Regions from separate parts of the Homo sapiens genome. Here region 2 is linked to region 1. The links are contacts of gene promoters, found by promoter capture Hi-C in human tissues and cell types (Jung and others, 2019). All regions are on one chromosome and are shown on one strand. The core of a region is centred on a gene start or on the middle of the fragment in contact, and the rest is flanking DNA. Distances in the headings are between cores, read along the strand shown.

Region 1 (4,996 bases), core at 1,683-4,182:
GGCTGATGTGGGTGGATCCCTTGAGTCCAGGAGTCCAGGAGTTCCACACCAGCCTGGCCAACACGGCAAAACCCTGTCTCTAGTAAAAATACAAAAATTAGCCGGGCATGGTGGCCTGTGCCTGTAATCCCAGCTACTCAAGAGGCTGAGACAGAAGAATTGCTTGAACCTGGGAAGTGGAGGTTGCAGTGAGCCAAGATCGCGTCACTGCACTCCAGTCTGGGTGACATAGCAAGACCCTGTCTCTAAAACAAAAAACCATGAGAAGCTGAAAGAACTATGGATGAAAGGAAAATAGTTTAGGCTGGGTGCGGTTGTTCACACCTGTAATCCCAGCACTTTGCGAGGCCAAGGTAGGTGGATCATTTGAGGTCAGGAACTCAAAACTAGCCTGGCCAACATGGTGAAATCCCATCTCTACAAAAAAATACAGAAATTAGCCGGGCGTGGTGGTAGTCCCAGCTACCCGGGAGACTGAGGGAGGAACCGCTTGAACCCTGGAGGCAGAGGCTGCAGTGAGCAGATATCATGCCACTGCACTCCAGCCTGGGTGACACAGTGAGACTCTGTCTCCAAAAAAAAAAAAAAAAAAAAAAAAAAAAAAAGTTTATATTTTAGTGCCTCTAAGGGCATTTTTTCCCCTAGGTTTTGAACAAGGGTCCCTGCATTTCCATTTTGCACTGGATCCTGACAATTATGCAGCTGGCCATGCTTCAGTCTATTCTGCAGCAGATTCGGGATTAATTTTCTCAAAATACAGCTTTAATTAGGCCACTCCTCAGCTGAAAGTTCTTCAGTGGCTTCTTATTAGCCTGTAGGATAGAGTCCTGATTCTTCAGTCTAACCTGCAGGGTACTCCGCAATCCACACCCATGCTGTGTCCCCAACCTCCTTTCCCACTAGTCTCCGACTAGTTCTCTCCTGGAGCCAAGCCAGCCACTCCTGGGGTAGACTGTGCTTACTCCTGACTTCACACCTCTGTGCCTTTCATTCCTTTGTCCTGGAAGACTACCTACCCTTCAGAGGCCAGCCCCAACTCCCATTCATTCATTCATTCATTCAATGCATACCATTTTTTTGAGATGGAGTTTTGCTCTTGTCCAGGCTGGAGTGCAGTGACACAATCTCGGCTCACTGCAACCTCCACCTTCCAGGTTCAAGCAATTCTCTTGCCTCAGCCTCCTGAGTAGCTGGGATTACAGGCTCCCACCACCGCACCCGGCTAATTTTTTTAGTTTTAGTAGAGACGCAGTTTCACCATGTTGGCCAGGCTGGTCTTGAACTCCTGACCTCTGGTCTCGAACTCCCTTGCTCAGGTGATCCATTGGCCTCGGCCTCCTATAGAGCTGGGATTACAGGCATGAGCCACTGGGCCTGGCCGAGATAATGATTTTTTTTTTCTCTCTTTTTTTGAGACGAAGTCTCACTCTATTGCCCAAGCTGGAGTGCAATGGCGTGATCTCAGCTCACTGCAAGCTCCGCCTCCCGGGTTCAAGCAATTCTCCTGCTTCAGCCTCCTGAGTAGCTGGGACTACAGGCACCCACCACCATGCCCAGCTAATTTTTTTTTTTTTTTTTATTGAGACGGAAGCTCTGTTGCCCAGGCTGGAGTGCAGTGGAGCGATCTCGGCTCACTGCAAGCTCCGCCTCCCGGGTTCATGCCATTCTCCTGCCTCAGCCTCCCAAGTAGCTGGGACTACAAGCTCCCGCCACGACGCCCAGCTAATTTTTTTTTTTTGTATTTTTAGTAGGGACGGGGTTTCACTGTGTTATCCAGGATGGTCTCGATCTCCTGACCTCGTGATCCACCCACCTCGGCCTCCCAAAGTGCTGGGATTACTGGCGTGAGCCACCGCGCCTGGCCTAATTTTGCATTTTTAAGTAGAGACGGGGTTTCACCATGTGGGCAAGGCTAGTCTCGAACTCCTGACTTCGTGATCTGCCCGCCTCGGCCTCCCAAAATGCTGGGATTACAGGCATAAGCCACCGTGCCCGGCTTGAGATAATGATTCTTAACATGTGGTATGTAGAGCAAGTGTACTCCCGCCCTAGACTGTGAGCCCCGTGAGAGATGTGGCTTCAGTGTAACCTCTCTGGCCTCCCCAGGGCTACAGCACACAGTCTATAGAGGTGCTCAATAAATGTTTGTTGACCCAAGTAGACACATAAGGAGGTGAGTTCCGACGTGGGGGTGGGGGTGCCAGGAGGCAGAGAACCGAAGTAGACCTGGCTGCAGGGCTGGGATCTCAGGGCAGTGCTGGGGACTGGGAATGTGGTGTTGAGAGGGCTTCAGGGAGACGTGATGGGAAGATGGGGAAGCCTCTGCACGTGGACAGAGCCAGGTGGTGTGGACAGGGGCTGTGAGATTGGAGAAGGAGGCGTCTGGGGGACTGGTAGCGGCTCCCAACAGGGGAACGTCCCTCTGGGGGTGGCCTTTATCCATCTCTGCGGGGCCTGTCCTAGCTTCCCTCCTGGCTCGGCCAGCCTCCCGGCTGGTCTCTTCGCTCTCTTTCTTGATCTCTAGCTCTTTATTCCTCTGACATTCTGCCCCATCTGCTCCCGGACTCTTCCGCCGCATCTGTATCTTAGTCTCTTTCTAACTCCCTGCCTGGGGCCCCCACCTTTGAGCATATATCGGCTTCTCTCTCTGCCGTTGTGTTTCTCTGGGGTTATCTTTCCCTCTACTCCGCCCGGACACGCCCTCTATCTCTTCCTCCCACCCTGTCCCAGTCTAGTACCTGGGGTGGGGGTAATGGAGAGACAGCTAGGTCCCTAAGAGAAGTCAGGGGGGCGGGCCCAACCTCTCCATATTTACATATGTATGAGGTCGCCTGGGCCAGTGGCGAGGAGGCGGAGCTTCTGGGGGTGGGAAGGGGGCGGGCACCCCCAGAGCCGCAGAGTATAAAGACCGCGCTCGGCGACCGCGGGCCTCGCACTGCTGAGGAGCGGAGCCTCCGCCTGGGGGGCCCCCCATCCCTGGCTGTCCCCCAGCTGCGCGTCCCCGCCCCACCCCCGCGGCTGAGCCACCACCGGTGCAGTGGTCTCCGCTTGGCGGAGCGAGCCTTGAGCTTCGTTCCACAGCTTCTTTGCATCTTGGATTTCGGGGCGGCCCCCTCCCCCACCTCTCTCTGCCTTTTTGTACCCCGCTTTTTTTCTGCGTTCTGCTCGGTTTTTGTAGCCGTCTGTTTTTGCACCCCATTTCGTTTTGTTTCTAGACGGTTTGGTGGGGGGTGAAGCTGCATTCATACCCCTTCCTCTTGTTATTCTCCCCTGCTCTGACAGCACCCCTTTTCATCGCAGTTGGGGGGCCTAGGATCGGTGCATCTTCCGCCGCGCTGCCAGCACCCCGCAGCGCGTGGTCGTGCACCCCGGAATCTGCAGCAGCTGCATATCTGAGGGGGGTCTCCTTTGCCCGCGCCGCCTTCGCTCCCCGTGCTTTTGGGTGTGTGGAGGGCTTCAGCGCGCGGCGCCCCCGCTTCTCCGCAACCCCCCGCCCCGCGCCCGGACTCGCCCCGCGCCACCAAGATGGTCATCCAGAAAGAGAAGAAGAGCTGCGGGCAGGTGGTTGAGGAGTGGAAGGAGTTCGTGTGGAACCCGAGGACGCACCAGTTTATGGGCCGCACCGGGACCAGCTGGGGTACGCAGGGCCGGCACGCAAGGGGCGGGGGAAAGCCGCGGGGCGACGCCTCGGGGGCGCAGGGTCCCGCCGACGCGGCCCCAGCTCCCCTCCCGGGTCCCCGGCGTCCAGCCTCCCTGCCGGGCTCTGGGCTGGGAGGGGGCCGAATCGCCAGTCTAATCTCCCCGGCTGGCCGTGCGGAGGCGGAGAAAGTAGGTCACAGCCGCCTTCCCGCCCCCCGCGGAGCCCCCTCGGGCGGGGGGTCGCCAGCTCCGCCTGCGTGTCCGCGCCGGCGCTCACACTCCCTCTCGGGGCCTGTCCGCTCCACACGGGCGTCCCCCACCTCCAAAGAGCGCCCCTTCCCTCCCTCCGGCTCTCACTAGCTCCGCAGCCCCGTCTATTTTTAGCTCGTGCCCACCCCCTGGACCCTGGGAACGTTCATGAGGGGGCGGGTCTTGGGGGGTGTGTTAGGGGGGTTCTTCACGGCGGAAGTTGTCTGTATCCCACCGCCTGGCCTTGGGAGCCTTCTGGGACTGCTTTGTGGGTTGGGGGGCTGCTGATAGTATGAGTTTTACCGAGGCTGCAGGTTTTGCTCCCATGTCGGTGACGGAGGGAGGAGTGGTCGCTGTGGTGATTTGTGTGCATCAGCCAGCCAGGTGTCTGTGACAGTCGGATGACTTGGAAGCCTCCCCAGGCTGACCATGGCAGGACTCAGGGAGCTGTAGTGGTCGGGGGTTGGGGGGGTGGAGGGGGTCTGGTGACCGGCACAGGTGCAGGTGAGGGGTGGAATTCTTCCAAGAGGGATGGTCAAGCTGGGACGTTGAGACACAGGGGACAGAGGACACTGTGTGACACGATTTACAATCTTTCCACACTGGGCACCGTCCCCATCAGTCCACCCATTCGGGGCCTACACGAAGTGGGTCCCATGCAATCCATTCCCTCAGGGAACTCAAACTCCAGCCCCTGGGATGAGAAGAATCCAGCAATGCTTGGGAGAGCCAGAGGACTTCATGGAAGAAGTGTCCTCTGAGATGGAAGGATTGGGAGTCCAGGGTGGTGGGAACAGCCGGCCCTTGGGTCCTTACTTCAGGCGGGGGAGCCATGGAGAGATCCCACCAAGGGAAGGCTGTGGGAGATTCTGCCTTTCCTCCCTGCCTCTGCCCAGGGTGCTGGGTGTGAACTGAGGGTGGGGTGACTGTTGAAGGTTCTAACAAGCCGTCTCTGAGAGATTTGTAGCTAGGCTAGTGTTAGGTCTTTCATTTCAGGAACTGTGTTCAAAGTTTGGCTTCTGAAGGGCACCAGGAGAGAGATGTTGCTATTCAAATCTGAGGGTCCAGTCTCTGCGGGGTGGTATGAGGGTTTGCTTGTGAATGGTGG
Region 2 (4,996 bases), core at 949-3,448, 53 kb before region 1:
CTACAGGTACGCACCACTACTTCCAGCTAATTTTTAAATTTTTGTAGAGATTGGGTCTCACTATGTTGCACAGGCTGGTCTCAAACTCCTAGGCTCAAGTGATCCTCTCACTTTGACCTCCGAAGGTGCTGGGATTACAGGTGTGAGCCACTGTGCCCAGTTTGAGGCTTATTTTCTACTTCGGCCTCTCTTCCCTCTATCCCCTAAGAGACCCAGAAGAAAGACATCCTTTGCTGACCTCCCCATAGATGCGGAAAGTGCAGGTCTCTTCACCCAACTCAATGGCGGTCACCCCAGGTACTTTTCGGGCCTGCTGGATGTTGGCACCGTGAGTCCCAATTGCCAGTCCCATCAGGTCCTCTCGCACTGTGAACTCCTCTTGGAAGGCTGCTGCCAACTGCTTGCTTGTCTGAAAGGAAAAGTCACTGTAGGAATCATGGTGGTAGAATCTCACAGTCCCAGGCACACGACCCTTTGCATAACTTAAATAAGGAAAACTGTGTGATATTAATAGAAAGCTAGAACCACTCTGGAGTCCGCGGACCACGAGGACCTGTGTGGAAAGGTCAGGAACTTTTTGTTTTTTCTTTGAGATGGCGTCTCGCTCTGTCGCCCAGGCTGGAGTGCAGTGGCGCGATCTCAGCTCACTGCAACCTCCGCCTCTCGACTTCAAGTGATTCTCATGCCTCGGCCTCCTGAGTAGCTACGACTACAGGTGTCCACCACCATGCCTGGCTAATTTCTGTATTTTTAGTAGAGACAAGGTTTCACCATGTTGGCCAGGCTGGTCTCAAACTCCTGACCTCAGGTGATCCGCCCGCCTCAGCCTCCCAAAGTGCTGGGATTACCGGCATAAGCCACCACGCCCGGCCAAGGTCAGGAACTTTTAATTCCACTCCTTCCAAATACCAGTGGTTTGTGGGGGAGGAAAGGTAAAGAGGGCAGAGTTTGGACTGGGACACACCGAAGTTCTGGATTTGGCCCTAACAGTATCTGTCCCTAAGAGTATCTATCTGTGTGATCTTAAACAAAACATACTCTGCCTCTTGTGTCATCTGCTAAGTGATTATATCCAACTTATCTTATTCTCAAGACTAGCAAGAGGATTAGACAAGGCTGGTGTGAAAGTACTTCTCACAAGGTACATGCAAGTGTAAGGAACTCTTACCTTAATCAAACAAATATCAACTCATCCCCAAATAAAACTCAACAACTTAAGTAAAAAGTGAGGGGTAGGCTGTGCGCGGTGGCTCACGCCTGTAATTCCAGCACTGTGGGAGGCTGAGGCAGGTGGATCACAAGGTCAGGAGATCAAGACCATCCTGCCAACATAGTGAAACCCCATCTCTATTAAAAATACAAAAATTAGCTGGCCTTGGTGGGGTGTGCCTATAATCCCAGCTGCTTGGGAGGCTGAGGCAGGAGAATTGCTTGAACCAGGGAGTTGGAGGTTACAGTGAGCCGAGGTCATGCCACTGCACTCCAGCCTGGTGACAGAGCAAAACTCTGTCTCAAAAAAAAGTGAGGGGTTAAGAAAAACAGAAAACATGCCTCTAGAACACCAGGCTTTCACTTCATTTCTCAATCAGTCCTTAGAGGAACCCCTGGGTTCAGGGGCAGGAAGACAGGAAAGGTTTTAGAGGAGTGAATCCCATGTTGTAAGCACCAAATAGAAACAATACCTGAAAGGAGACATTCCTAGATTGAAATACACTACTTCCCACTTCCAAGTTGGATAGGACTGAATTATACCAAGGATTTATACCAGGCAAGAAGAGAAAGTTGGAAAAATAAACTAAGTTGAGTGTTCAAAATCACTACATTAGGAGGGGAGGGGAAGAGATCTACAATGACCTATAAGCGTCTTCTAGATAAGCTTGCAGAACAGCTGGGTTTTCTTTTTTTTTTTTCTTTTTTTTGAGATGGGGTCTGTCACCCAGGCTAGAGTGCAGTGGCATGATCTCTGCTCACTGCAACTTCTGCCTCCCTTTTTTTGTATTTTTAGTAGAGAAGGGGTTTCACCATGCTGGCCAGACTGGTCTCAAACTCCTAACCTCAGGCAATCCACCTGCCTCGGCTTCCCAAAGTGCTGGGATTGCAGGCGTGAGCCGCTGCACCCGGCCCCTTTCCGGTTTTTAGAGGCTTCACTACTAGGCATGACTGATTAAATCACTGATCCTCAGTGATTGCCTTAACCTTTGGCCCCATTCCCCTCCCAGGAAGTTGGTGGGGGTGAGGCTGAAAGTTCCAACCCTCTAATCATGAAGCCACCTAGAGGGGCTAGCCATGAATCAACTCATCAGCACACAAAAACACACATCACTGGAGATTCCAAGGATTTTAGAAGTTGAATGCCAGGAGCCTGGTCAGGAGACCAAATATGTATCTCTCAGTATCACAGAGCCTGTCAGTCCTACTGGTTTTACTCGTAAAATTTATCCTACATAAAACTACTCTCTCTCTCTTCCTTTAGCACTCCAGTTCAAGTTTCTCACCTGGACTACTGTGCTCTGTTCCTGCTTCCATTCTTGCCCCCCTTTCCATCTGTCATTGAAACAGGAGTTTAAAACAGAAGGCACTTTCGGCCGGGCACAGTGGCTCTCGCCTGTAATCCCAGCACTTTGGGAGGCCGAGGTGGGTGGATCACGAGGTCAGGAGATCAAGACCATCCTGGCTAACACGGTGAAACCCCATCTCTACTAAAAAAAAATACAAAAAAATCAGCCGGGCGTGGTGGCAGGCGCCTGTAGTCCCAGCTTCTCGTGAGGCTGAGGCAGGAGAATGGCGTGAACTTGGGAGGTGGAGCTTGCAGTGAGCCGAGATCACGCCAATGCACTCCAGCCTGGGTGACAGAGCGAGACTCCGTCTCAAAAACAAAACAAAACAAAACAAAACAAAAAACCAGAAGGCACTGTTAACTCAATGGCTTCTCAGTATACGCACAATAAAATCCCCCCTCCTCAGCCTACCGTACATGTCTTACATGATCTACTCTCTGACCGAATTTTGTATCGGTCTCCCTTTGCTCACTCTGCGCTAACTACACAAGCTGCAGTGAGCTGAGATCGCACTACTGCACTCCAGCCTGGACGACAGAATGAGACTCCGTCTCAAAAAATTAAAAAACAACAACAAAAATTAGGCCGGGTGCAATGGGTCATGTCTATAATCCCAGCACTTTGGGAGGCCAAGGCAAGTGGATCCCTTGAGGCCAGGGGTTCGCGACCAGCCTAGCCAACATGGTGAAACTCCGTCTCTACTAAAAATACTGAAATTAGGGCCAGGTATAGTGGCTCATGCCTGTAATCCCAGTACTTTGGGAGGCCAAGGCAGGTGGATCACCTGCGGTCGGGAGTTCAAAACCAGCCTGGGCAACATGGTGAAACACTAAAAAAGCAAAAATTATCCAGACGTGGGGGCGCGTGCCTATTATCCCAGCTACCTGGGAGGCCGAGGCACAAGAATCGCTTGAACCCAGGAGCGAGAGGTTGCAGGGAGCGGAGATTGTGCCATTGCACTCCAGCCTGGGTGACAGAGGGAAACTGTCTCCAAAAAAAAAAAAAAAATAGCCAGGTATGGTGGCATGCACCTGTAATCCCACCCACCCAAAGGCTGAGGTGAGAGGATCACTTGAGCTCGGGGGGTAGAGACTGCAGTGAGCTGAGATCGCACCACTACATACACTCCAGCCTGGATAACAGACTGAGACTCCATCTCAAAACAAAAAACAAAAACAAAAAATAAAGTTTGTATCATCTGAAGGTAATGGTGAATTTTTACCTGCCAGTGCCCTGAGCAGGATCCCTGAAGAAGTCAAAGATTATCATGACCCAGAAATTGCACAGGCACAGAAAAAAGCCTCCCAAAAAGATCAATTCCCTTGATAAATGGAAATGGTATTCAAACACACACACCCTATTCACTTAGAATAGTATAATACCAACGAAAGGGAATCTGACAATTATACGATGTCAGAATTCAAAAAGATCTCACAGAAATACTCTAGTCAGGCCAGGCGTGGTGGCTGACACCTGTAATCCCAACATTTTGGGAGGTCGAGGTGGGCGGATCACCTGAGGTCCATAGTTTGAGATCAGCCTGGCCAACATGGTGAAACCCCATCTCTACTAAAAAAGACAAAAATTAGCCAGGTGTGATGGCACACACCTGTAATCCCAGCTACTTGGGAGGCTGAGGCAGGAGAATCGCTTCAATCTGGGAGGTGGAGGTTGCAGTAAGCCAAGATAGCGCCACTGCGCTCTAGCCTGGGCGACAGAGACGCTATCTCAAAAAACAAACAAAAAAACAAGAAATATCCTTTTTTTCTTTGAGATGGAGTTTCACTCTTGTTGCCCAGGCTGGAGTACAATGGTGTGATCTCGGCTCACTGCAACCTCCGCCTCCCAGGTTCAAGCGATTCTCCTGCCTCAGCCTCCCGAGTAGCTGGGACAACAGGCGCCTGCCACCACGCCTGGCTAATTTTTGTAGTTTTAGTAGAGACGGGGTTTCACCCATGTTGGCCAGGCTGGTCTTGAACTCCCGACCTCAGGTGATCTGCCCGCCTCAGCCTCCCAAAGTGCTGGGATTACAGACGTGGGCCACCGCGCCCAGTCATATCCTTTTTTTCTTTGAGACAGAGTTTCACTCTTGTCACCCAGGCTGAAGTGCAATGGCGCAATCTTGGCTCACTGCAACCTCCACTTCCCAGGTTCAAGCGATTCTCCTGCCTCAGTCTCTCGAGTAGCTGAAATTACAGGCATGTGCCACCACGCCCAGCTGATTTTTGTCTTCTTAGTAAAGATGGGGTTTCACCAGTCTCGACTCCCAACCTCGGATTGATCTGCCTGCCTCGGCCTCCCAAAGTGCTAAAGTGCTGCGATTAAAGGCGTGAGCCACCGCGCCCACCCTAAAAAATAAATATTCTAGTCTAGGCTGCATGTGGTGGCTCACACCTGTAATCCTAGCACTTTGCAAAGTACAGGCAGATGGATCTCTT

Evidence for each region. The method cuts DNA at HindIII sites, captures the fragments that hold promoters and counts their contacts. A contact is called where the count stands out against the background at its distance.
Region 2: a contact is called between a fragment that was not itself captured here and the fragment with the promoter of ATP1B2 in region 1, in 1 of the 25 tissues and cell types used here (adrenal gland).

What each region holds. Positions count from the first base shown.
Region 1 is chr17:7,647,994-7,652,989 of GRCh38, forward strand. It overlaps ATP1B2 (ATPase Na+/K+ transporting subunit beta 2), which reads left to right and starts at 2,933. Exons shown (of 7, transcript NM_001678.5): 1 at 2,933-3,637. The coding sequence starts at 3,526. RefSeq lists silencers at 1-96, 2,843-2,992 and enhancers at 1,585-2,085, 2,086-2,586, 2,861-3,503. The HindIII fragment of the contact is 20,754 bases long and covers 1-4,996 here.
Region 2 is chr17:7,595,586-7,600,581 of GRCh38, forward strand. FXR2 (FMR1 autosomal homolog 2) reads right to left here. Exons shown (of 17, transcript NM_004860.4): 8 at 239-409. Among named protein-coding and RNA genes, the nearest start is that of SOX15, 8.0 kb to the left of the region's middle. The HindIII fragment of the contact is 6,198 bases long and covers 1-4,996 here.